Linked DNA regions of Homo sapiens: regions 1, 3, 4, 5, 6 and 7 are each linked to region 2. Evidence: promoter capture Hi-C in 16 types of primary human blood cells and fetal thymus (Javierre and others, 2016). All regions are on one chromosome and are shown on one strand. Each heading gives the region's core, a stretch centred on a gene start or on the middle of the fragment in contact. The rest is flanking DNA. Distances are from core to core; before and after follow the strand shown. Region 1 holds the start of EPRS1 (glutamyl-prolyl-tRNA synthetase 1). Region 2 holds the start of RRP15 (ribosomal RNA processing 15 homolog). Region 3 holds the start of BPNT1 (3'(2'), 5'-bisphosphate nucleotidase 1). Region 4 overlaps BPNT1 (3'(2'), 5'-bisphosphate nucleotidase 1). Region 5 overlaps IARS2 (isoleucyl-tRNA synthetase 2, mitochondrial). Region 6 overlaps EPRS1 (glutamyl-prolyl-tRNA synthetase 1). Region 7 overlaps EPRS1 (glutamyl-prolyl-tRNA synthetase 1).

Region 1 (2,762 bases), core at 208-2,707, 1.8 Mb before region 2:
ATATGGGTGCAGCTCACACACACGAATGTGTGTATACACCTTGGAGTATCTCTGGAGCTCATGCATGCACGTCCGTCACAAAGGATTTGAAAGGGAGAATCAGATGAGACGCTGAAAAAAACACCTGTGGACTCCATGATTGGGGGCGGCATCGGAGGGTTTTTTTGTTTTGTTTTTTAGATCAGGTCTCTCCCTGTGTCGGCCAGGCTGGAGGGTAGTGGCTACTCACAGGCAAGTCCACGGCGAGGCCACTACAGCCTCATCTTCCTGGGCTCAGGCGATCCTGCCTCAGCCTTCTTAATAGCTGAGACTACAGGAGCGCGCCACTGCGCCTATCTGCAGTGATTTTTTGTTTGTTTTGAAACGGGGTCTCAGTCTGTCGCCCAGGCTGGAGTGCAGTGCCGCGATCTCGGCTCACCGCAACCTCCTCCTCCCGGGTTCAAGCGATTCTCCTGCCTCAGCTCCCCAAGTAGCTAGGATTAAAGGTGCGCGCTACCATTCCCGGCTAATTTTTGTACTTTTAGTAGAGACCCCCGTCTCTACAGTTTCACCATGTTGGTGAAGCTGGTCTCCAACTCCTGACCTCGAGATCCGCTCGCCTCCGGCCTCCCAAAGTGCTGGGATTACAGGCCTGAGCCACCGCGCCCGGCCTCTGCTGTGATTTTTTTTTTTTTTCTTTTCGAGAAGGAGTCTCACTCTGTCGCCCAGGCTGGATGCAGTAGCACGATCTCGGCTCACTGCAACCTCCACCTCCCAGGTTCAAGCGATTCTCCTGCCTCAGCCTCCCAAGTAGCTGGGATTACAGGGGCCCACCACCATGCCAGGCTAATTTTTGTATTTTTAGTAGAGATGGGGTTTCACCATGCTGGCCAGACTGGTCTCGAACTCCTGACCTCAGGTGATCCGCCCGCCTACACCTTCTAAAGTGCTGAGATTACAGGCGTGAGCCACCACGCCCGGCCTGCAGTGATTTTTAAAGAGTCTTTTATATTTCCTTTAACCATTATTTTCAACACGCAAATAACTCTTGAAAATACGTTCTTGTTTTGGAAAAAAAAAAACGGGGGGGAATGTATAAAATAAACAACGAGAAAAACTTCTCCCATTCCCAACGTAATCATGGCTATCGTGTGTATGCTTCCAGGACTTTTCTTTTTACATAAAGACAGTGCATGCTTTTGTTTCGTGCTTCACATAAACGCCTATCCCATCTTAAAGATGGTTTTACAACCTGCTGTTTTACGACCTGCTGACTTGACGAAGTGTCGTAAAGTCCCGTCCACTTCAGCGTCTTTCCCACCGCAGCACGAAAGGCCACGCAGGCCGTTCTAACCCTGGCGGCCAAGAGGAGGGGTAGCAGGCTCTGGAACCTGCGGGCGGGGACGAAGACGGCGCGCGACGATGTCGCACCGCGGCGTGCGCGGTGTCGGCAGTAGCTGCGGCGCAGGGGCGGAGCGAAGGCTGCGGCGGCGTCGGGTACGCGCACACGTTGCATCTTCTTCCTTTCGCGGGGTCCTCCGTAGTTCTGGCACGAGCCAGGCGTACTGACAGGTGGACCAGCGGACTGGTGGAGATGGCGACGCTCTCTCTGACCGTGAATTCAGGAGACCCTCCGCTAGGTAAGGGGCCGAGACCAATGACCTGTGTGGGTTGCATCAGCCAGGGAGGGTGCAGGGCGTGGAAGGTCGCTGCGCCCCGGCTTTGCGCAGTGGTGGTCACCATCTGGGATGTTGGACCTGCCCCTCGCCCCAGAATTGTACGTGGAGGAGGCTCCGCACCCCTCGCCCCGTGTCCCCGGCAGGTGCATCTGCTCCTGAAGATGGTTTTCCCGGGCATGGAGGGAGGCGCAGTGTGAGCCCGGGCTAGACAACACGAGACTCCGCTTCGGATCTTTTTCTCAGAGGGATGAACTCCCAGTCAACTCACCTCTCCCTTTTTCCCCCGGAGAGCGAGAGTTGCTCGTGGAAATAAGATTTTAAAACTTAAAATCCAATAGTCGTCGCTTCTCTTTTAGCATTTTTCCCCCAACTCCTTTTCTTACCTCCTTTCCTGTCCTGTCCCTCCTCTCAGGAGAAATCCTCAGTTCACTTGAGTCAAATTTTCCTTACGTTTTATCGAGTTCAGAAGAAATAACCCAGACGAGCATATTAGCATTTAGGATTTCAACTGAGGCTGCATTTATTTTTAATTAAATGTGGTAGGGTAATTGGGGAAAACACCCAGGTACACTGTAGACTGATGCGGTTGCTTTTACTGCACCCTGTGGATGTGTAGTAAATTTCAGAGTAAACATTGGATCTGTCACCTTACTGACACATCTTAAGTTCTGTTTGGAATTATTTTTTCGACATGACCAAGATTATTGTTGGTAGATTGCTTAGAATTTCTGCTTTTTCATTACTTTGGGAAATTACACAGAAGAATTTAAGTAGTTTGCCGATTTTTTTTTTTCTTTTGAGAGTCAGGGTCTTGCTCTATCGTCCAGGCTGGAGTGCAGTGGCGCTTTCAAGGCTCACTGCAGCATCGAACTTCCGGGCTCAGATGATCCTCCCACCTCAGCCTCCTTAGTAGCTGGGACTACAGGCGCGTGCCACCATGCCTGGCTAATTTTGTGTTTGTGTCTTTTTTGGAAAGATGGCGTTTCACTGTGTTGCCCAGGCAGGTCTCAAACTCCTGGGCTCAAGCCATCCTGACTTGGCCTCCCAAAGTACTAGGATTACAGGCGTGAGCCACAGTACCCAGCCTGACCTAATATTTGTTAA
Region 2 (2,967 bases), core at 372-2,871:
CAAATATAGTACTCTTCCCTTCTTGAACAATAGTGTTTGAACTAGTCTAATGAATTTAAAAAATATCAGAACCAGAAGTTCTAATTTTGGCCCAACAAATAGTTTGTTTTCCTTAACAATGTGGCAGGAGATGAAGACTCTAATTACCTAGGAATTGCAGTAGCATATGACACTTTCTTCTTGGTCCTGGAAGTCCAGGTTAATTCATTCATTTACTTAAATATCTGTGAAGGACCCACAAGGCAATAGGAACTGGGGATACAGTAGGCTCTATTTTTATGGAACTTATATTCCAATTGGGAAAGCAGCAAATACATACATCAAATGGTTTGGGCAGGGTTGAGAAAAAATAAAGCAGGGCAATAAGTCAAAAAGTGAAGAAAAGAAGGCAGGAAGAAGAGTAGTGGTGGTACGTTACATAGGGTAGTCAGGGACAAGTCTCTCTGGTAAGGCACTGGATCAGAGGCTGGTGAGGGAGAGACATGCCAAGCATTTGAAAACTATTCTAGGCAGCGGAGCCAACAAATGAAGAAACCATGGTGTGGGAGCATGTTTAAGGTGTTAAACACAAGCATACCGGTATGGCATGATTACAGTTAGTGGTTTGTGAGGGGCATATTGGCCTATGACAGACAACCTGGCCCAAATCATACAGCCTAAGGATTTTGGATATTATATACTGAGATGAGAAGCCACTGGATCATCTCAAACAGACAGCGGGCATAATTAGAAATACGTTATAAAAGAATAGCTCTGTCTGTTTTTTGGGTATCAGCTGGTACAAAGGAGCAATAACTGGGCAGTAGGAAGTCAGGGATTACCTGCAATTCCTTGTAACCTAATAAGCTGGTGCCAAGAATGATGGTAAAGAGGAGCAACAGACACAGCATGGTTGAAAGCCTCAAAAACACATCCTTCCTTCCTTTTATTATCAAGCGTCTCTGAGAGACATAGTTATCAAACACTACCAGTTTTTAATCGACCTTAACCACCAAACTCTTCTTTCATTCACTATTATTTAGTCTCTAAAACACGCACACATCTACCGCACAAAAAGTCAAGTACACCCCCTTCTTCCTCTTACCTCTTTTAACCTTTTGCTTCTTACACCCTATGAGACCCATTCTTCTCCTGTTTTCAAGTACCCTCTTCCTTTCACCCTTTGCTACTGTAAGTTTCTCGGTAGCTGCAGGTGTTTCACCCATTTTATTATAATTAATAATGGTGACCCTGAAAATACCTAGTAAAAGAATGTGGAAACTCAAAATTACAGTTGACAGCGTTACTTCTCTGAACACGACTTCCCCAAGCCTCCTCACTAAGCCAAAGTCGCCCCTCTGAAGTGGTGCCAAGATAAAACCCAGGTGGCTAGCAGCAAATGAAGTCGCAAGCGCTGCTTGACACGAACTCAGCCCCGCCTTTCCTCCCAGACACCAAAGCTCAGCCCTACCACATTACCTTCACTATCAGAAGTGTCTGTGGCCTCGTCTTCCAGCACCGACGCTACGGCTCCAGTTACCATTTTCATCTTCTTCTTTGGGGTCTTTTTCAGGTTTTCTTCCTCACTCACACGTGAGTCCGGAGCGGCGGCTGCCATTTTTCTGCGCCGGAAGCGTCACCTGACAGTTGCGTCCGGTGGCAACCAGAGGAACTTCTGCATTTAGTGCCGGTAACACAAGGTTCCGGGGCGGGGTCGTCTAGCCCAGAGTTCCGGGGCCGGAGCCTCAGAATGTGACTTGGAGAGAGCTCTGAATGGCTCGGTGTGTTTACGCGAAGTCCGTTCCAGGACGAAAATCAGCGGCTGAATGGCCTCAGCCGACTCCTCCGCTAGCTCGCCTGTGCCCTGGTCCTCCGCCCCAGTGCGTCCCCAGCCCGTCCCCAGCCCAGCGCGGTCCACTTTGATTTCCTAGCCTCGGCGGCTTCCCTTGTCTGCTGCCTTAATGTTGGTTTAGTGTCCTCCTCAGGTGTCTCTTACGTGCCCACTGAACGCCGCAGCAGCTAGGACGCGGGACAGATCCACTGGGGGCCGATAATTAGAATACGATCGTATCATCCCCCCGCCCAAGATAACACGCGAGACCTTTCTTGCAAACCGAATAGACTCACCTTCTTTCCCTGGGGCGGGTGTTGAATCCAACCGCACCCTTCTCCCTCGGACCCGGCTGGGGCCTGGAGGGTTTCTGGCGCCCGACTGCGCAGTGCAGACCGAGGGTGCGAATACCTTGCTATCCGCGCGAGGATCCTGCCTCCCACCCGGGGCTAGCTTTTCTCTGAAGTTAGCCTCTGTCACCAGCTCCTAGTTCCATCGAAGCACCTACCACAGTCGGCCTTCATTTTCCCCCCTAAAATGTTGGCTTCTCGCAGGAGGGGAACGTATTTCATTTACCATGTCCCCTCAAGGTTAGCAACAGAAGTTGGCCTGAAGTGAATTTTCCAAAAATATTTTTGGAAGGGATGAATGAATCAATGAATGAGTGACAGAATATAACTATTGACAAAGTTAATGACTCAGATGGATAATGCAGCAAACCTTTACTGGCTAGACTTGTTCTAAAGGCTTTCCCCAAACTTAGCGTTTTCCCTTTCCCCTCTTAAGGAGGTTCATAGATTGTGATACCCATAAGTCAAAAACAAAAACAAGAATCCTCATTTTGACATATTCCAGTAGATGTTTATGTAGGAAATAAATATATATTCACATCCTAAAAACTCAATACAACATTTTTAAACTTGGTTTTTAATTTTTTTGTCTTTTAAGAGAGAGAGGGTCTAGCCGGGTGCGGTGGCTCACACCTGTAATCCCAGCACTTTGGGAGGCTGAGATAAGTGGATCGCTTGAGTCCAGGAGTTTGAGAACAGCCTGGCCAACATGGTGAAACCCCATCTCTACTAAAAATACACAAATTAGCCAAACGCAGTGACGAGTGCCTGTAGTCCCAGTTACTCGGGAGGCTGAAGCAGGAGAAT
Region 3 (2,756 bases), core at 15-2,514, 1.8 Mb before region 2:
AGTGAGCCGAGATCAAGCCATTGCACTCCAGCCTGGGCGACAGAGTAAGACGCCGTCTCAAAAAATATATATATGTATATATGTGTGTGTGTGTGTGTGTGTATATATATATATATATATATATATATATATATATATATGGTTAAAGTAATATAATTTAAGTTATGTATATTTTTCCACTTCCCAAAAAGGGTCTACTTAACTCACAGAGTTATTGTGAAAATCAAATGAAGACGTAAAAGCCTTTTTAAGCTGGGCGCAGTGGCTCACACCTGTAATCCCAGCACTTTGGGAGGCCGAGGTGAGCAGATCACCTGGGGTCAGGAGTTCAAGACCAGCCTGGCCAATATGATGAAACCCCGTCTCTACTTAAAAAACAAACAAAATTAGCCCGGCGTGGTGGCGCGCCTGTAGTCCTAGCTACTTGGGAGGCTAAGGAGGAAGGATCGCTTGAACCCAGGAGGAGGAGGTTGTAGTGAACCTAGACTGCGCCACTGCACTCCAGCCTGGGCGACAGGATGAGACACTGCCCCCTTCCCCAACCACGCCCCCCAGTAAAAGATCCCATCTGTACACAAAAAATATTTTAATTAGCTGGGTGTGGTGGCGCGCACCTCCACCAGTAGTCCCAGCTACACGGAAGGCTGAGGCGGGAGGATGGCTTGAGCCTAGAAGTGGGAAGGCAGCAGTGAGCCGTAATCGACTCTGGGCGACAGAGCAAGCTATCTATCGCTTAAAAAAAAAAAAAAAAAAAAAAAAAAAAAGGTAAGCAAGCATCTTTGACACAATTCTGCATAAAGTTGCTGTGTTATTGCGTGGGGAGTGGGAGGTGGAGGTGTGTGTGGTGGACCTGCTGAAGCCTGTCCACGGACCGCTAGGGGTTCGAAGTTAAATAGCCGCAGAGTGGTATCACTAATACAAAGAACATTTTAAAACAGTGAACTCTACGAAGTGGGCTGGAAGACAGCTGAAACCAAAACCAATCTTTTTTTTGTTTCAACACACTGTTGCTGGCTTAATGTGTTCTTTCCTTCTTCTTTTTCTTTTTTTAGCCAATCTTTGAAAGTTGACACATCTTTCGCTTTTATTTAATGCAACAGGTGACTTGCACCTACGGAGAGCTTGGAGAAAACACGGACAAGTGGAATTTTCCCGCGGATCAGGAGTCTAAAGAGGCAGTGTGAAATCGCTGTTGTGCGCTTGCGCGCAGTTTCCCGCATGCTCAGTAGCTGAGGTAGGGATGCCATCCTTCTCAAAAGACTTATTGACAGTGCCAAAGCTCGGTACTGGACACAACGAGGGACCTGGGTCTACGATAACGCGCTTTTGCTCCTCCTGAAGTGTCTTTGGTCCAACGTTGTTCCAGGTTTGTCACCGTTTCTCTCCGGCCGGTCAGGGCAAGAGCCAGGTAGATAGGATTTATGTTAAAAAAATAAAACGAAAAAGGTTTATGTGAATCAGATTGCTTCTCCAGATATTCTAACTTCCGACTTGGACTCTTGAGTGTCGATATTTTAATTGTTTATCTGTGCTTTTATTTTCGTGATCCGGAAGGTTTTTATAGCCATATACTGTAGAAACAAGACAAACCTAGACATTGAGTTTGTTGATGCACCCAAATTTAGAAACTGCTTGGTACCTAAAATTAAATTTCTTTAAACAGCAAATATTCTTCCAACTGCCATTTCTACATATTTATAGGTTTGCGTGATTTATTTGGATTTCTCTGTAAATATAATTGTTGGTTCAAAAGATACGTACTTTATACTTTTATTAAGGTTCTCAAAACTCTCCTAAGAGGGTTCACCGCTTTGCCAACAATGCTCAGGAACATGTTCCCTCACACCCTTGCAAACTGGACAAAGGACAAACTCTTCTTCTTTCTTCTTTTTTCTTCTTCTTCTTCCTCCTCCTTCCTCCTCCTTCTTTTTTTTTTTTTTTTTTTTTTTTCGAGACGGAGTCTCGCTCTGTCGCCCAGGCTTGAGTGCAGTGGTGCAATCTCGGCTCACTGCAAGCTCCACCTCCCAGGTTCACGCCATTCTCCTGCCTCAGCCTCCCGAGTAGCTGGGACTACAGGCGCCCACCACCAAGCCTGGCTAATTTTTTTTGTATTTTTAGTAGAGACGGGGTTTCACCGTGTTAGTCAGGATGGTTTCGATCTCCTGACCTCGTGATCTGCCCGTCTCGGCCTCCCAAAGTGCTGGGATTACAGGCGTGAGCCACCGCGCCCAGCCTTTCTTTCTTTCTTTTTTTTTTTTTTTTAAGACAGGTTCTAGCTCTGTCCCCCAGGCTGGAGTACAGTGGTGCCATTATGTCTCACTGCAACCTTGACCTCCCAGGGTCTGGTGATTCTCCCACCTCAGCCTCCCGAGCAGCTGGGACTACAGGCATGTGCCACCACACCATCTAATTTTTGCATTTTTTTGTAGAGACGAGGTTTTGCCATGTTGCCCAGGCTGGTCTCGAACTCCTGAGCTCAAGCAATACACCAGCCTTGGCCTCCCAAAAAGTTCTAGGATTACGGGTGTGAGCCACTGCATTCAGCGACAATTTTTTTTTTTTTTTTTTTTTTTGAGTCGGAGTCTCTGTCGCCCAGGCTGGACTGCAGTGGCGCGATCTCGGCTCACCACAACCTCTGCCTCCTATGTTCAAGCAATTTTCCTGCCTCAGCCTCCTGAGTAATTTTTGTATTACTATGCCTGGTTAATTTTTGTATTTTTAGTAGAGATGGGGTTTCACCATGTTGGCCAGGCTAG
Region 4 (2,732 bases), core at 212-2,711, 1.8 Mb before region 2:
TTTGTATTTTTAGGAGAGATGGGGTTTCACCATGTTGGTCAGGCTGGTCTTGAACTCCTGACCTCAGGTGATCCACTCACCTGGGCCTCCCAAAGTGCTGGGATTACAGGTGTGAGCCACCGCACCTGGTAGGTTTTAGGTTTTAAGCTTAGAGTTTTATTTTTAAACTTAAGATCTAGGCCAGGCGTGGTGGCTTATGCCTGTAATCCCAGCACTTTGGGAGGCCGAGGTGGGCAGATAATTAGGTCGGAAGTTCAAGACCAGCCTGGCCAACATGGTGAAACACCTTCTCTCCTAAAAATACAAAAATTAGCTGGGCCTGGTGGCACACGTCTGTAATCCCAGCTACTTGTGGGGCTGAGGCAGGAGAATTGCTTGAATCCAGAAGACAGAGGTTGCAGTGAGCTGAGATCATGCCACTGCACTCCAGCCTGGGTGACAGAGCAAGACTCTGTTTCAAAAAAAGAAAATAAGAATAATAATGATGATGATGATGATAAAATTAAATTAAGGTCTACATAAATTTTCTTGTATTGGCTCTCAGGACATGGCTTAAAAAATTTATCATAATTACTAGAAAAAAACTATTTTACTGTTCTTGAATGAGACATCGCTATAATGGGTGAATCACAGTGTGTGTATACATGTGTATGTATGTGTGTGTGCTGAAAACATCTGTAGAACCCATTGTGAAATAAGGAAGCTCTAGACAACTTTAATGTGTATAAAAGCACCTAGAAAGCTTATTTAGGTCTTGTCCCCCACTCTCAGATTTTGATTCACTAGTTCTGGGAAGGAGCCTGAGAAGATCTGTATTATAAAAAGTACATCAGTTAATTCTAATGCTGCTTGATAGTCCTTGGGCCTCCCTTTGAGAAACTCTGTTTTAAAGGCTTGAAATACAAGTCTAGAGTGTAATCCAGGAATATAAAGTGATTCGGCAGGTAAGGATGAGTTGGATGATGGTGGAAGAGGCACAGAGGAATCTGATGATGATGGCTGCAAAATTATGGCTGCTTTATTTAGTTGGTTTACACATTGTACTAATGAGACCATGATAGCCAATTCAATTAAGTGGCCATAGATCCTATGGCTGTTTCTGGCCAGCTTATCATTTATGCCTTTCACTATAAATAGGATTGATCACGGATGAATCATTGCAAATTCCATACCTTAACTGCAAAACTAACTTGGAGCAATTGATGTAGTAATGATGAGTCATAATATGAGCAAGTTATATAACTGATATTTATTTCTTCTTTGCAGGTCTTCTTGACAATGTAACAGTTCTTATTGGAATTGCTTATGAAGGAAAAGCCATAGCAGGAGTTATTAACCAGCCATATTACAACTATGAGGTATTACTATAAATGATACAAAGTAATTTCATTAGATAAATAATTATAGTGTTATCTGATTCTTTATGTTACCTAAGCAAGTGGTTTTTAGCTTGGTTGCATATGCAATCATCTGGGGAACTTTTCATTTTTTAAATTTTATTTATTTATTTATTTATTTTTAACTTTTTTTTTAGCTATGCTATTAACTGATGAGAAACCTTTAAAAATACGGATTCCCAGGCCATACCCCAGACCTACTGAATCAAAATCGCTGGGGGCATTGGTACTGGGTATGTATATATATGCATGTGTATGTACACAGACCCACTAAATGCATTATATATTTTTTAATTTATTCCTTATGATTCAAATATAAATGTTGAGAGAATTACTGATAGGGTTCTTGATTAGCTTGGGCATCAAGACACCTGATTTATGATTGGTTCCTGAAGCACATTCAAGAAATGAACCATTTCAACTAAGAAAAGATGCTAGGCCTGTTGTTTTCCAGGTAACGCTGTGTAGCGCCTAAGTTACAGTCAGTGTTGGTAACAGAACGTACTATGCTCTTGCATTCTTTTTTCTTGTCTCTTCTAATCTGCTTTGATTTTCTATTATACATCAGATAAATTGCCTTCCATAGAAGCAAGGGACTAGTGTAATTTCAAAGCAAGAATTTACCATTAAATTGCATTAAATTGTATAGGAAATTGTTGAGATAAAGTAGTTAAGGTATTTATATTAATGTGACCTTGATAGAACTTTAGAGAAACAAAGTAATCAGAGTGGGCAATACTACTTCTGAATTTCCACTCTGAGTTAAAAGCAAGGTTAAGCTTTATTTCTAATATAAATTTGTTTTTTCCTGCTGTTTGTATGATTATAAATTATATTAAGAATCGTGTTTCTTAGGATTTACCAAAAGAGTTATATGTTATTGAGAAAGTCTCTGGGGTTAAATTGCTTGTGTCTATTAATTCTTTAAATATGATTTTAATGTTGATACTGTTATATACAGACATAAGTTTGTGGTTTTTATGTAAACTTTAAGTTAATACTATTACTTTCAAAAGGGGCATTTAATTCATATAAAGCATTGTAATGCACGGTACCTTTCATCAAGAAAAAATCTAAGTGCTTAGGAGTTAATAATTTTCACCACTTCTTTCTGAGATTAGAAAAATTGTATTCATTTTCCACAGAACAATGAAAAACAGCAGTTAAGGGAACACAGGAATGAAGCAAAGGTGAGAAAAATAGCTAGGGTTTTGGCTCCACTAGTAGGTAGAAAAGAAGCAGGCAACTTGTGGTACCCCAGGTGGTCATTGTACATCCCACATACCAGTTCATTTTCTCCAGTTCTGCTTCTCTTCATTACCTCTCTCTGTACCA
Region 5 (3,043 bases), core at 67-2,566, 1.8 Mb before region 2:
ATAGAGGAGCCAGAGGCTAAGTAAATTCCTCAGTCTCACACACAGTGAATGGCAAAGCCTGGGTTCAAATTCAGTTGCCATTCTCCAAAGCTCACAGATTTCCAAGCAACTTCTCTTTCGAAAAGCACAAAAGGGAGCTGTTCGGGATAAAAGAATTATTCTAAGACACAATTATGATAGTGGCTGTAAAACTTAACAAATTTACTATAAATCACTTATAATAAATGAATTTTTCTTTTTTAATTTTTTTGAGATAGAGTCTCACTCTGTCACCCAGGCTGGAGTCCAGTGGCACGATCTTGGCTCACTGCAACCTCTGCCTCCCAGGTTCAAGCAGTTCTCTGCCTGAGCCTTCGGAGTAGCTGAGATTACAGGCCCGCGCCACCATGCCTGGCTAATTTTTGTATTTTCGGTAGAGATGGAGTTTCACCATCTTGGCCAGGCTGGTCTTGAACTCCTGACCTCATGATACACCAGCCTCGGCCTCCCAAAGGGCTGGGATTACAGGCGTGAGCCACCGCACCTGGCCATGAATTTTATAGTATGTAAAGTATGCTTTAATAAAGCTTAAGAATGAGGCTGATCTATGTGTAGTGATTTGGAATAAATCATAACACATAAAGTGAAAAAAATCTAGGCACAGAGCAGAAGATAGAGATACTCTCTTTTGTATAAACATATGTATGTGCTGACAGAAGAATTCATTTTTTCTGGAAAGATTCAGAAACAGCTGTAAACAATGACTGCCTCAAAAAAAGGTTCTGGATACCTGGAGTAGGAAAAAGCCTACTTTTCAGTGTACAAGCTTTTCTACTATGAATTGTTCACTATGTCCATCTATTACCTTTCCAACTCAAAAAAAAAAAAAGGGAAAAACTGGGAATATAATCATCAGTGTAATCATGTGCATTTAACTACAATTTCTTAAATTTTAAGTATCTACACAATTACATAATCCCATTTCCACTGAAAAGGAAAGCAGACTCAGAATGTGAGAGTGATTCTCTTCATTCCTTTAGAAAAAATACATTTCAGGCTCCCCTGCTAAACACTGTCCATCTTTGGATCCATGATACCTTAATACAGCCCAATAAATTCTCATAGAAAAAAAGTCAGAGACTTTACTTCTAAGTATCAATATTTAAGAAAATCTAGTTAATATTTTAACTGTATGATAGAATTGTTTTGAACTTATATTTTAGTCCCCCAAAAGACTATTTTAGCATATTTTATTTAACATATATAAACGGTTCTTAATCATCCACATTATTTTTCAATTTTTGAAGAAAAAATATTTCACTTTAAAACACTAAAAAATTTTAGAAAGCATTCTACCTGTTGATCAAGTATTCATCCTTGGTCTTATGATGAAACACAGGAATTGGAACACCCCAAACTCTTTGCCTTGATATACACCAATATGGCCGCCTGTCCATCATTTCAACCATGCCATTCAGTGCTGATCCAGGAATAAATTTCACCTTTTTTAACAATTCCTGCAATTAATTCATAAATCAAGTCTTGTGAGAGAAAGCAGAACAAGTATTCTAGAACAGTCAATTTTCCAAATGCATTTGTTTCTTTTGGATGTTTGTAGCCATTCACATACCTCCCTTACCCTCCCCTCAAAAAAACAACTAAAGAACTAAAAGATTTCAGAGCAAATAAGGCAAAGTAAAAATGGAGCCGCGAAGAACTTAATAAATAATATCGGGAGCAGTGATAATATCAGGAGCATTGTTGCATTTTTTAACAATGTTACAAAAGATTTCATACCAATTTCTAATTTACACCAACCCTAGATCAAAACTGGTAATAAAAGCTTTCATAGAACTATTATACTTCACTAAACTATAGTTAAAATCAATTCAAACTTGATTTCCACCATTTTTTAAAATGCTTAAAAAATAAATTACTATCGTAGACTGCCAAAAAAAGATTGCGATATACCTAATTTTACATAATATAGTTTACAACACAGAAAACACTTTCTCAAAATAAGCCCAAGTATGTGGTTCAAACCTGTAATCCCAGCATTTTGGTAGGCTGAGGTGGGAGGATCACTTGAGCCCAAGAGTTCAAGGTTGCAGTGAGCTATGAGCATGGCAGTGCACTCCAACCTGGGCGACAGAGCAAGAGCCTGTCTCTAAAATAAATCTCTCTCTCTCTCTATATATATATATCTATCGACAAATGGCTAACAGTTACTTCCTCTCAAGAAAGCTCCCTTCCTCCATTCCCAAAATAAGGTTGAAAACTGCTACCATTTGATTTAATTTGTCAACTAGCAAAAGATTAACTGTATAGCAAAAATGTTTACTAATAGTCTCCAAAAAGGTCAAAATGTTAACTTCATTTTAAAAAATCTTTCTATCCATTAATAAAAGCATTTTTACATTTTCAAAGAAGGTTTAAATGGTTTCCTCACTCACCGTAACTACCAGAAGTCCCCTCCCACAAAGCTCTCTGTAGCACCACCTATTGGCAGAATGGCAAAATCTCTACAAATCAATTTGATTAATACCATACTTGGTTTAAAAGTCTAAGAAATGTGAATATTGAATAGATATTTGATTTTGCTAAGGAATAACTATTACTTTTTAAAGGTGGTGATAATGGCATGGGAATTATGCTTTAAAGAGTTTGGCCGAGCATGGTGGCTCACGTCTGTAATCCCAGCACTTTGGGAGGCTGAGGAGGGCGGATCACCCGAGCTCAGGAGTTCAAGACCAGCCTGGCCAACATGGAGAAACTCCGTCTCTACCAAAAATACAAAAAAATTAGCCGGGCATGGTGGTGCATGCCTATAATTCCAGCTAATCAGAAGGCTTAGGCAGGGAATTGCTTGAACCCAGGAGGTGGAGGCTGCTGTGAGCCAAGATCACATCACTGCACTCCAGCCTGGGCAACAAGAGTGAAACTCCATCTCAAGAAAATAAATAAATAAATACAGAGTTTATCTTTGGCTGACACCTGTAATTACAGCACTCTGAGAGGCCGAAGCAGGCAGACTGCTTGAGCTCAGGAGTTCGACACCAACCGG
Region 6 (2,776 bases), core at 102-2,601, 1.7 Mb before region 2:
ACTTCCTTTTGTCTCATCTTTCTCTAGTTCAGGGTATCACTTTAGAAAACACAAATCCACGGTCCTATTATCCCTGAGGACTGACTCCTCATTGCCTAAAACTTAAAAGCCAAACTTAAAAGGTCCTCTGTGTTTTTGACTTAATCTATTTCGGCTTCCTTCCCTACCCACCCAATATGCATTCCTAACTTTTCATGGACATTGCACTACTTTTTCCTGCCTTTGTGCCTTACCTACTCTGTTATTTATTTACTTAGAATGAATACCCCATATACTTTTTTTTTTTTTTTTGAGACAGAGTTTTGCTCGTCACCCAGGCTGGAGTGCAGTGGCATGATCTCGGCTCACTGCAGCCTCCGTCTCCCAGGTTCAAGCGATTCTCCTGCCTCAGCTTCCTGAGTAGCTGGGACTACAGGTGCACGCCGCCAGGCCCAGCTAATTTTTGCATTTTTAGTAGAGATGGGGTTTCACCATGTTAGCCAGTCTGGTCTCAAACTTCTGACCTCAAGTGATCTGCCATCCTCGGCCTCCCAAAGTGCTGGGATTACAGGCATGAACCACCGTGCCTAGCATCCCATATACTCCATCTGATACATTTCTACTTATCTTCGAGGTCCAGCTTGGTTCTTAACTGCTTTTAAGCTTTTCCTGATAAACCTAGGTATTGCTGATTAATTTCAACTGAGTGCCCTAACAGCACCCTGAACATATCTGTATTACTGGTATTTGGTTTTATTTATATTCTTAACCAGATTTTGTACCCTCAAGTGTAGGGATGATGTTCTAGTCATCATATTTTTCATAACCAGTGTGTGTAGTGCCTGGCACATTTGTTGAATGAGTGTGTTCTTAGACATTTAACCATAAGACTTTTTGTTGTGATGGTGGTTGTGTTTTTCAGGCACCTGAGAAAAAGCAAGATGTTGGGAAATTTGTTGAGCTTCCAGGTGCGGAGATGGGAAAGGTTACCGTCAGATTTCCTCCAGAGGCCAGTGGGTAAGAAAATGTAACTCACATTTATAATTGAATATATTTAGTGGGAAAGCTTTAAAACAGTGATTAAATACTTAAAGTATTAATAGGTTAATAATATAGAAGAACATAAGATTTTAATTGTGAGAGTTAAAATTCTAAACGTTTTAACAGTTTTTATGTTATTAATAGTTAATGTTGATTTAATTTGTAGTTTTAGTTTGTCAACTTAGTAAAAGAGACATTTTAGTTTTATCCTGACAGAACTTTAATTATGTAATTAACAAAATATCCAAAAATAAGAAACCTTAAATTTCATTTTTATTTTTAGATTTTTGGGCTTTCATTTAATTGGATTTGTATTTGTACCCTGAGCAATCCTTTTAATTAGCAGTTGAAGTTATAATAGTATTGGTCTTTAAGTTATTTTTTTTCCCCAAGTGAAGGGGAGTCCTGAAAAGCCTGTTCCTATTCCTTTCTTTCCATTAGGTTTCCCAACCCCTTCATCTCTTGGCACCCATGGAAAGTAGTATTTGAATAGCTCATTAGAGAAAAAGACTGTTCTGTATGGTGATCACCAGGCTGGGGCTGCTTCAGCCCTTGCCCACCATTCCCCAAGGCTGAGAAGGAAGTCTTTGTCTTTGCACACCTGTCATCCTATTTGAAGTATACTGGACAAGCTTTATAATAGCGTCCTTCCAATGATGTTAATATAATAAAATACCTCTTATTAAAGCAGTTAGCCTCACTTAGAAAATTAACCATTAGGAAAATGTTCTGCCATGTTTTGTAATTGAGGTGATTATTTTTTCCAAATTTAAGATTTCCAAATTTAATTTTTTCAGATTTTGTATTCTATCACCATAATGAAGTTCTCACCTTTCTATAGTACACAGTAGAAACTGGAAGATACAGAAACAATTTTCTTTTAGCGATGTATTTAATACTTCTTCACAAACTATTTCATAAGCATCATTAACAGTAAAATTGCTTTTAGAATTTCACATTTTGTCTCTGCTTTTCTATGTTTGCTGATTCAGGAGGTGAAATAAAGGGTAGATAGAAGGAGATGAAACAGAAGTGATGACTGTGGAAAATTCACAGACTTGATCGTTAAATGGTTGATTGGTAATTGACTAAGTGGATTCAGGCATAAATAATACTTACCTTACATGGTTTAATATCTATAGACATCTTGGGTTCCTACCATCTAGTATTCTGCTACTGTGCACTTGGTATGAGAGGTCATGATTGTCCTGTTGGATAGTGACCTTGATCGTCTAAAAGCCACCTTTTTTTGGCAGTGGCCATTTTTAGCTGCGCCACTTGAACATTTGTCTTTTTTAAATCTTTTCATATTTTGCGTCACTGTCACTTCTGGGAATAGTGAGTTCCCCATGTTTGTATATTTACAGTATAATATATATTTACCTGTTGTAAATTATGTCAGAGACTACGCTCATGAGACAGTTTTGGGGTCAGGAATATAAATCAGTATTTAGTTTTTTTTACTATGCATAGTTTTCATCATCTCTTCTTGTACTGTTAAAGAGTTTTTCTTTAATTACTATTTTTTCATTTTTTCTTTTCTGTGTCTTAAATGAAAGGCCAGAAGGCTTGGCTTAGTCTTTTATTCTTATTCTTAGCTAACATATACATAGCACCTATTATGTACAGGTGCTACCACATGCTTTACTTATAGTAACTTATTAATCCCAACAGCCTTCTGAGGAGGCACTGTTGTTATCTCTGTTTTACAAATGGTTTCGGAAACAGATTCATATGTTGTAGTAACTTGCCAAGC
Region 7 (2,741 bases), core at 65-2,564, 1.7 Mb before region 2:
CCTTATTTAATGTAAAAAAAGGGAGAAAAAAAGTGTAGTGCCATTTTAAAGCATGTGATCTTATAGTAATCATTTTCAAGGGCATAATAGGTTATTAAAAATGAAGCTTATTTTTCTCTCTCTATTTTAGGGAGGAACATCACATCATTTAGGGCAGAATTTTTCCAAAATGTTTGAAATCGTTTTTGAAGATCCAAAGATACCAGGAGAGAAGCAATTTGCCTATCAAAACTCCTGGGGCCTGACAACTCGAACTATTGGTGTTATGACCATGGTTCATGGGGACAACATGGGTTTAGTATTACCACCCCGTGTAGCATGTGTTCAGGTAAGGAAAATATTCCTGTTTATCACTCATTTTATAAAATACAAGCCATATTTACTAAAGGAAATTTGAAAGGGTGATTTTCTGAATATCATTCAGGCAGATTTCTCTGATAATAAAAACAACGTGGAATGCAGTCTGGACCCTAGTGTTTTGTGACTGTGTGTATTATTTATTTATTGTTTCTTACTCTTTTAATTTTTAAGCTACTTATATAAACATTTTTAGAAGTCATTTTTTAAAAACGGTTTATAGTATGTTAAATGAGCTGGGCATGCAGGCTCACGCCTGTAATCCCAGCACTGTGGGACGCCAAGGCGGGCAGATTGCTTGAGCCCAGGAGTTTGAGACTAAGCCTGGGCAACATGGCAAAATCTAGTCTACAAAAAATTAGCCAGGTGTGGTGGCATGCACTGATAGTCCCAGCTACTTGGGAGGCTGGGGGGGAAAAAAAAATATATATATATATATATACACACACATATGAAAAATAGATTAAGTGAAATATAGTGGGTCAGATGAAAATGCATTTAGCACGGGTAAGTGATTTGCAGGTAATTAGTAGACATTATATATAAGATTAGAAATCACACAGCTGATTCGTGTTAATAATATAGCCACTGGTAGGTTTCGACTTCTGAGAGCTCATTACTTCTATATCTGTTTCTTTGCATACATTTGGGACATTGTGCTGATTCTAGGTGGTGATTATTCCTTGTGGCATTACCAATGCACTTTCTGAAGAAGACAAAGAAGCGCTGATTGCAAAATGCAATGATTATCGAAGGCGATTACTCAGTGTTAACATCCGCGTTAGAGCTGATTTACGAGATAATTATTCTCCAGGTTGGAAATTCAATCACTGGGAGCTCAAGGTAAATTCCTAAGCTTTATCTTTTACCCCCAACATCTGCAATTTGAGTTTAGATTTTCCTCTGCATGTTTTTATAAAACGAGGTTTCTCATTACTTTCCTCTATTTTGATAGTTGTGAGTTTTCTTCTTCTTCACTTAAACTGTTGAGCACTGACACAGTTCATAGCTTTGCAATAGTGATACCTAAATTTAAAATAGTTTTTGTGGAAGCTTATTTTTATTATGTTAGAATAAAAACGATCTCGAGCGCTTGTTTATGATTACCCTCACGTAACTAGTATACTAAAATGTTTATGCCAGGAATTCATAAAATAAATAAGTTATTTACATAGACCACCAGAATAACAGTACATGGACATCACTTAGCTGTGTTTGTTATAGCTAATAGTGAAACATCTGAGATTAATTTTATTCTTGAGTTTTCACACCACATTGTTTCATACCAGTTTGTTGATTTTTATTTTGTTTATTAAAGCCAGTCTAAATTCTGCTTTATTGTTTGTAATATAACTTTCATGTATTGCACATTGTCATTAATAGATTATCTGTGGCCTTAATTCTGATTTATAAACTTACAACATTTTTTTCTTATGCTGAAAGAGGGAATCTTACTGGATCTAGAAATTAGGAATCGAGACTATATAAATTGATATTATAGGTGACAGTATGAGAGAATGTATTGAGATTGCAGCTGCATGCTTTCAAACTATGGAAGCTCAGCAATATTGGGATTTTTAGGTATTTATACATCTAGGGTTCCCAAAGTTGCTAATATTTATCATCTTATTTGTTTCACATTGCCCCTGAGGTAAATTTCCTGTGCTGAGGAATGGTAATTATATTGATAATTGTTTCCCTTTTATGTAATATACCAGCTTCTTTATATGCTTTTCTAAACATGATTTTTTTTCCATGTCATTTCCTTTTTAATTGCACTCCTTTTTGCTTACTTATAAATAGCTATTGTGTGATGCCAGTAGCAGTTTCTCTAAACTAATTTCTACTTAACCTGGGCTATAAAATGTTAAAGGAGAAATTTACTGCTGGCTACTAGCGGGATTAAAAAGAAAAAACCATCCACGTTCATTCCTGAATTCTTTGTACCCTTTCCTCTTTTATTCATTTCTCATCCTTAGACTGACTTGGCTTTGTCTTTGTCACTCTTCTTTTAGTACTCTAGTGAGCCTATACTATGCTGGGGAGGTATTCTTAGTATGAGTTGGGTCTTCTACAGCTTCGTTGTCTGTATTCCTCAGGAAAGAAAATAAAGCACCTAAGTTCTAAACTTGACGCCTCAAGTTAAAGAACATTGAGAAAGAGAGTTCACTATCTAGTGAAGGTATTAGTTATACTTTTTAATGCCATTTTAATTCCATTTAGTCAAAGAATTTCTAAGAAAAAATATTTTAGGAGATCTGGATTTATATTTATTTGACAGCGATTGACCAAAGTGTGTGAGCGATGTGTACGCGCATTTTGAAACTTATTCAGATTAATAAATGAGCTATAATATTGTTTGATTGTGAGGCCAGAACCCAGCA

What was found. The method cuts DNA at HindIII sites, captures the fragments that hold promoters and counts their contacts. A CHiCAGO score of 5 or more calls a contact.
Region 1: the fragment with the promoter of EPRS1 here is called in contact with the fragment with the promoter of RRP15 in region 2 in 6 of 17 cell types (total CD4 T cells, monocytes, total CD8 T cells and 3 more); the score reaches 12.2 in total CD4 T cells.
Region 3: the fragment with the promoter of BPNT1 here is called in contact with the fragment with the promoter of RRP15 in region 2 in 3 of 17 cell types (total B cells, naive B cells and activated CD4 T cells); the score reaches 7.8 in total B cells.
Region 4: a fragment that was not itself captured here is called in contact with the fragment with the promoter of RRP15 in region 2 in 1 of 17 cell types (total CD4 T cells); the score reaches 5.7 in total CD4 T cells.
Region 5: a fragment that was not itself captured here is called in contact with the fragment with the promoter of RRP15 in region 2 in 1 of 17 cell types (naive CD8 T cells); the score reaches 5.2 in naive CD8 T cells.
Region 6: a fragment that was not itself captured here is called in contact with the fragment with the promoter of RRP15 in region 2 in 1 of 17 cell types (non-activated CD4 T cells); the score reaches 5.3 in non-activated CD4 T cells.
Region 7: a contact is called between a fragment that was not itself captured here and the fragment with the promoter of RRP15 in region 2, in 1 of 17 cell types (total CD4 T cells). The highest score is 5.7, in total CD4 T cells.

The regions. Positions count from the first base shown.
Region 1 is chr1:220,045,200-220,047,961 of GRCh38, reverse strand. It overlaps EPRS1 (glutamyl-prolyl-tRNA synthetase 1), which reads left to right and starts at 1,457. Exons shown (of 32, transcript NM_004446.3): 1 at 1,457-1,619. The coding sequence starts at 1,574. RefSeq lists enhancers at 1,246-1,315, 1,376-1,705, 1,747-2,304. The HindIII fragment of the contact is 10,455 bases long and covers 1-2,762 here.
Region 2 is chr1:218,283,947-218,286,913 of GRCh38, reverse strand. It overlaps RRP15 (ribosomal RNA processing 15 homolog), which reads right to left and starts at 1,621. Exons shown (of 5, transcript NM_016052.4): 1 at 1,459-1,621. The coding sequence starts at 1,597. RefSeq lists enhancers at 1,364-1,643, 2,174-2,243. The HindIII fragment of the contact is 12,027 bases long and covers 1-2,967 here.
Region 3 is chr1:220,088,296-220,091,051 of GRCh38, reverse strand. It overlaps BPNT1 (3'(2'), 5'-bisphosphate nucleotidase 1), which reads left to right and starts at 1,264. Exons shown (of 9, transcript NM_006085.6): 1 at 1,264-1,366. RefSeq lists an enhancer at 964-1,153. The HindIII fragment of the contact is 18,631 bases long and covers 1-2,756 here.
Region 4 is chr1:220,065,928-220,068,659 of GRCh38, reverse strand. BPNT1 (3'(2'), 5'-bisphosphate nucleotidase 1) reads left to right here. Exons shown (of 9, transcript NM_006085.6): 6 at 1,267-1,358. Among named protein-coding and RNA genes, the nearest start is that of EPRS1, 21 kb to the right of the region's middle. The HindIII fragment of the contact is 1,434 bases long and covers 745-2,178 here.
Region 5 is chr1:220,112,767-220,115,809 of GRCh38, reverse strand. It overlaps IARS2 (isoleucyl-tRNA synthetase 2, mitochondrial), which reads right to left. Exons shown (of 23, transcript NM_018060.4): 12 at 1,336-1,496. Among named protein-coding and RNA genes, the nearest start is that of MIR215, 3.7 kb to the left of the region's middle. RefSeq lists an enhancer at 968-1,137. The HindIII fragment of the contact is 1,017 bases long and covers 808-1,824 here.
Region 6 is chr1:220,028,606-220,031,381 of GRCh38, reverse strand. EPRS1 (glutamyl-prolyl-tRNA synthetase 1) reads left to right here. Exons shown (of 32, transcript NM_004446.3): 6 at 902-996. Among named protein-coding and RNA genes, the nearest start is that of EPRS1, 17 kb to the left of the region's middle. The HindIII fragment of the contact is 607 bases long and covers 1,048-1,654 here.
Region 7 is chr1:219,977,005-219,979,745 of GRCh38, reverse strand. EPRS1 (glutamyl-prolyl-tRNA synthetase 1) reads left to right here. Exons shown (of 32, transcript NM_004446.3): 27 at 131-328; 28 at 1,027-1,200. Among named protein-coding and RNA genes, the nearest start is that of SLC30A10, 50 kb to the right of the region's middle. The HindIII fragment of the contact is 197 bases long and covers 1,216-1,412 here.